Linked DNA regions of Homo sapiens: region 1 is linked to region 2. Evidence: promoter capture Hi-C in 16 types of primary human blood cells and fetal thymus (Javierre and others, 2016). All regions are on one chromosome and are shown on one strand. The core of a region is centred on a gene start or on the middle of the fragment in contact, and the rest is flanking DNA. Distances in the headings are between cores, read along the strand shown. Region 1 overlaps CHST8 (carbohydrate sulfotransferase 8). Region 2 holds the start of LRP3 (LDL receptor related protein 3).

Region 1 (2,700 bases), core at 127-2,626, 580 kb before region 2:
CTGGCTCTGGAGTTCTGGGGTGAGCTAAGCATATCTTGCTCGCCCTGGTCTCCCCCAAAGCCCTAAGCAGCGCCCAGGTAGAGGGTAATTGTCCAGCGTTAACTTACTGATGACCTCAGGAAGACACAGAGAGACCAGTGCATCAATGGCCATGCTCTGGAACGCCCCCTCTGCCTACCAAGGAGGCCCATGCCTGGGCTGGGCTCACCTAAGAAGCAAGCTCTGGTGAGGTGAACCTTTGGCCAGAGCAGAATATTCTGTGTCATACCTCATTTGGTCTGCTTTGGGGGAAAGTCGCAGGAGGACAAGGAGATTCCCTTTGGGGGGAATCTATTTAGAAGCTGGAGCCTCCTTCCCCAGTCCCTACCTGGCCACCGAGGAATCAGGGGCTCTTTCTGCTCCAGTACCATGTGGGTGGACATTTTCGTCCTGAGGCTCTGCCAAAAGCCATGGTCACCATCAGAGCCAGCTATCCCTTAAGGAGAGAGCTGGATCTTCTGGCTGGCGCGCCGGGGCACCATGCCCGACCACACCTGAGCAAATCCTGGCTGCTGCCTGCGGGAGGGGGGTTCCAGTGTCCCACCACTTTCCTGGCTGTCTCCACGTCCTGGGCAGAGGTCCAGTGGCAGGAGCCCAGCTGGTGAAGGGATCTCCAGGTCTTCCCTGAGCCAGAGATTCTGTGGATTTCTCCATGAGGTCCAGTTTTACAGACTCAGCCACTGCCATGCCCCAGACAATGTAAGGCTGAGGCCGTGCCCGCACGTCTCCTTCAGTCATTAGCAGGCCAGGAAGGAGATGCAAGGTCAGCCCTGGAATGGACAGCCTGAATTCCCTGAGCTTGCCCGAACCTTCCTCAAGTCCCAAGAGAGGCAGAAATGCAGGCAGAACTGGGACACATTTCATCTTTCTTCCGCTTGTCCCTTTGGGCTGGGAACAAGGGTATGCTCTCCCCTGGGCAAAGGGCAGAGTGTCCCCATCTTCCTGGGCACTCCCAAGCTTATGTGCACATGCGTGCATGTGGGGGATCTTTGAAACAGGCCTTCTAGACTCTTCCCTGGAGACTGAGGGGAAGCTCCAAGTAGACCTGGCTGCACCCTTCAGGGTGTGGGGTGTAAGTAGCAGGTGCCTGGCCTGAGAGAGGAGTCTTTAGAATCAAGCTGCTCATTGCCACCCCCTGCCATGCCCAGAGTCTATTTCCCTCCTTGACAGCCACCCCCTCCTCTTCCCCATCCCATCATTACTGCAGCTGTCCCAGCACGAGCCTCCAGAGCTCCTTTCTCTCCCGCAGCCGATGATGACAGCTCCCTTCACTAGAAGGGACCCGCTGCACCACTTGGTTTTCCTCTACTCTGCCAGATTTCCTTAATTATTTTCTTCTGGTTATGGCAGCTGGCTCTGCTAAACCACCTCTCCTCCTCAGAGTCTCAGATATGGGAAATCACTCTGCTTGTCACTCCTGTCATCTCATCAAGGTGTGACGGTGCTTATATATTCCTTTTCTAAAGCAAATGAGTCATGCCAGATTTGGCCAAGAGTGGGGCTGAGAAGCCACTTCCAAAAGGGATCCTGCCAGTCGGGGGGAAGATGGAAGGCCATGTGCTTGTTGAGGTTGCAGCCCCTGAGGCCATGACCTCCCACTGGCACTGTCCCCACAGCCTCGGAGGGCAGTGGGCTGTGGTCCTGTTCCATTTTACCTGTGAGGACTGGACAGGGGGACACTGTCTCCTGGACCTCTGGACTCTGAGCCTAAGCTTCTGGGGCTGTCCCACTCTAATGCTCGCTGAGCTAGAGCCCTTGGCATTAACTAGAGGAAAAGTTCCTTCTAGACAAAGCCTGGGGCTGGGCGAGTCTCCTGATTTCCTGTTTACATGTGTCCATAAAGCCAACCTGCCTGCAACTTCCTCCTTTGAAAGGAAAAATTGCCTTGTGGAGAGTAAGAGAGATCAGTAACATCTTAAGTAGAGCCTGAGTTTGCCATAAGCTATTCCCAACCCTTAGACTTACGGCAGCTTATCAGGCAAAGATTAGACCTATCCCCACAAGCTCACTTTAACATTTTTAAAAATTTACTGCCGGGCACGGTGGCTCATGCCTGTCATCCCAGCACTTGGGAGGCTGAGATGGGCTGATCACTTGAGTCCGGGAGTTCGAGACTAGCCTGGCCAATATAGTGAAACCCGATCTCTACTAAAAATACAAAAAAATTAGCTGGGTGTGGTGGTGCATGCCTGTTATCCCAGCTACTCAGTAGGCTGAGACATGAAAATTACTTGAACCCAGGAGGCAGAGATTGCAGTGAGCTGAGATCACACCACTGCACTACAGCCTGAGCAACAGAGTGAGACTTTGTCTCAAAAAAATAAAATAAAATAAAGAAAAAGAAAAAAAATTTACATTTATTTTAGAAATAGTTAGAGATGGGGTCTTGCTATGTTGTCCAGGCTGGTCTCAAACACCTGGCCTCAAGAAATCCTCCTGCCTCGGCCTCCCAAAGGGCTGGAATTATAGGTGCGAGCCACCATACCTGGCTACAAGTTCACTTTCGAATAAAGAAGAAACGTAATGAAGGAAATCTAAAGGGACCTCCCCTTTGCCGTGAACCTAGTGTCCCCACTAGGAAGAAAACTGCTCTTCCATGCACCAGTCAGATAAAGGCTGAAGCAAAAACCACTGCTGGCTCTGGGCAAGTGAAAACCAGGA
Region 2 (2,700 bases), core at 93-2,592:
TGGGGGTGATTACTTTGTCATTTCAGTGGCTTCAGCAAACCTGTCAGGTTACAGAGCCCTCACTGGTGACATCACAGGGTGTCCCCTAATGACCCCCAGTTCTTATAATGGCCTCCCTCCTTCATCACAGTAAATAAAGGAGCCATGTGGGTTGGGGATTTAACTCCTCCTCTCGCCTACACAGAGCGCTGGAAAGCTGGACAGAAAAACTCCCGGACAGGGCGGGAGCCCCTCCCACCCCATGCCTGGCCTTGACCGGTCCCTGGCCCAACCCAAGCACCCTCCTAAACTGAACAGGCCTGCCTGGGGGCTGAGAGACACAAAGGGAAAACAGGAGTCCCCTGGAAGCCGCCTCCACACTGGCACCCTCCTCCAGCCCTGCCCCGCACCCCGAGTCCCCATCTGCGGCTTACACCAGCCCCCACCCCAACTCCGGGCCGGAAACAGTTTCTTCTTCAGGGGACAGCCGGCCTGGCCTTTGTCCCCAGCTCCCGGGGCCCCCTCGTCTCCAGGCTCAGCGCGGGCGGGCCGGGTTGAAGGCTGCCGCCTGCACGAAGGGCCTCCTGCCAGCGCTCAGCCCGGGCTCCGGGCGCTACTCCGAGCGGGGCGGGAGCCGGGGCTGCGCCACCAGAGTCGCCCTCCCAGGCCCGGGGCCAGGCGGGCAAGCGGTGCTGGCCCCTCTCTGGGTCTCCGCGCGGGAGCCACCGCGGTGGGGGGCTCGGGATGCCGCGGCCGGAGAGGAGGTCGGTCAGGGCGCGGCGCGGACTGCCATGCGGGGGACCCGGACCTGCCCGGCCCGCGCGGCCCACTCACCCAGACAGACGACGGCCAGCTGCGCCCGGGCGCCCGGCGCGCCCTCCAGCCCCGCGGCCGCGCGCTTCTCCATGCCGGGCCCGGCCGCCCGCGGGCGCCGCCTCCTGCCCCGCGGCTCCGGCTCCGGTTCCGGCTGCGGCTCCGGCTCTGGCTCTGGCTGCGGCTCGGGCTCGGGCTCGGGCTAGGGCTCGGGCTCCGGCTGGCGTGGCTGCTGCGGCCCGGGTGCAGGCGGCGGCTCCCGAGGCGTCTTTGTGCGGTGGCGGTGCAGGCCCGTAGGGCGCGCGCGGCCACATCGGCCGCGGCGTCACGGGCCCTGCGGGGGCTCAGCGGCGGCCGCCAGGGAAGACCCCCGCCCGCCGCTGCCCCCGCGCCCCGGGAGCCCCGCCGCGGCCGGCCTGGGCCCGGGGACCCCCGGCGCGCCCATGCCCCGCGGCGCGCAGCCCGCCCGGCCCCGGCGTCCCCGGGCCGCCCCGCGCTGCGCCCAGCCCGCCCGGCCGGGTGCCGCCGGTAGAGCGTCCGTGGGTCTGTCAGTCCTCCCGCCCGGCCCCTCGCCCGCGCCCGGAGCCTGGAGGCCGCGCTGCGCCAGCCACGTGACGCGCCCGCCGAGCCGCAGTGGCGCTGGCTGGGCGGGCGGAGGCGGCTGGGGCGGGCCGGGGGCGCACGCCCCGCCTCGGGGTGCTGGACAGCTCTGCGCACCAGCCCCGCCCCGCCCGCGCCCCCCGCCGCGCTCCCCGCGCTCCAGCCCAGTGCTCCAGGCAGCCGGTGCTCGCCTGGCCTCCTCCCGGGCCCACGAATTGATCCCTCCTGGAGCCGGCTGTGCTGAGGAGGACCGGGGAGCGAGGACTGGGAAAAGGTGGGAGAGAGAGGACGGCTTAGGGACCTCATAGGGGTGGCACAAGGCTAAGGCCTGTCTTCTTCGCAAGGTGTCCCTGTTCCTGCCCCTCCGCTTCTTTCATTTGCCACAGTCCAAGTGCCCTGTCACGTCTCTAAGAGGAACCCCCTGTGCCAAGCAAGACCTGTCAGGGGACATTGGTGAACACACCAGAGGCCTCTGGAGATCTCCCAGGGCCCCCTGAGCCCACCCTGTTACCCACTATCCTCGTGAGGCTGGGGACTTGGGAGGAGGCCTGCTTCTTAGGCTGGGGGTGCCCTCTGGAGAGCTGCCCACCAAGAGGTTGAGTCCAATGAGGCAAGAACCAGGAGAGACAGGGGGAAGGTTTGAGAAGGCCATTTAGGGCCAAGACGGATGTGAAATCAGAGGTCCCCAAAGGCTCCATGGCACAGCGGGCCCACCAACCTGAGCTGAGGCTCCCAACCCTTTTCTAACACCCCCAGACCCTCATTTGATATTCTCCGTTTATGGAGAGAAGGTTGAGAGAAACTGATGGTCCGTTAGTGAAAGCGTAGACAGTCACTCACTCACTCGCACTGTGCAGGTTGATTGGATTTTAATAAAAAATGGGGGGAAGAAAAATCCTTTTAGTTTTTCTGGGTTTTCTTATTCTCTCTCTTCTAATTCCTTTGGTGATTTTTCCAAAGCAGACTTCTTAGGAAATGTATTAAAGGACGTAAAAATCAAATAACAAGATACATTACAGATTGATGGCATAGAGCACTAGCCTATGTGTAATTTGGTTTCAGAATTTCCTCAGACTGCTGACTGCGGATGAGCAGGCATTTATTTACGCATGGCAAAAATGCTCAACAGAGGCAGGGGCAATGGTAGGGTGGATCTGCGGTTTGTTCGTTTGTTGTTGTTGTTGTTGTTGTTGCTGCTGCTGCTGCTGCTTCTTAGTTTTTTTAGAGACAGTCTCACTTTTTCACCCAGGCTAGAGTGCAGAGCTGCAACCATAGCTCACTGTACCCTCAAACTCCTGGGCTCAAGCA

The links. Contacts are between HindIII fragments. The CHiCAGO score rates a contact against its expected background, and 5 or more counts as called.
Region 1: a fragment that was not itself captured here is called in contact with the fragment with the promoter of LRP3 in region 2 in 1 of 17 cell types (M2 macrophages); the score reaches 5.7 in M2 macrophages.

Annotation. Positions count from the first base shown.
Region 1 is chr19:33,768,123-33,770,822 of GRCh38, reverse strand. All of the region lies in intron 3 of CHST8 (carbohydrate sulfotransferase 8), which reads right to left. Among named protein-coding and RNA genes, the nearest start is that of KCTD15, 27 kb to the left of the region's middle. The HindIII fragment of the contact is 755 bases long and covers 999-1,753 here.
Region 2 is chr19:33,192,972-33,195,671 of GRCh38, reverse strand. LRP3 (LDL receptor related protein 3) reads right to left here and starts at 1,342. Exons shown (of 7, transcript NM_002333.4): 1 at 814-1,342. The coding sequence starts at 886. The HindIII fragment of the contact is 39,491 bases long and covers 1-2,700 here.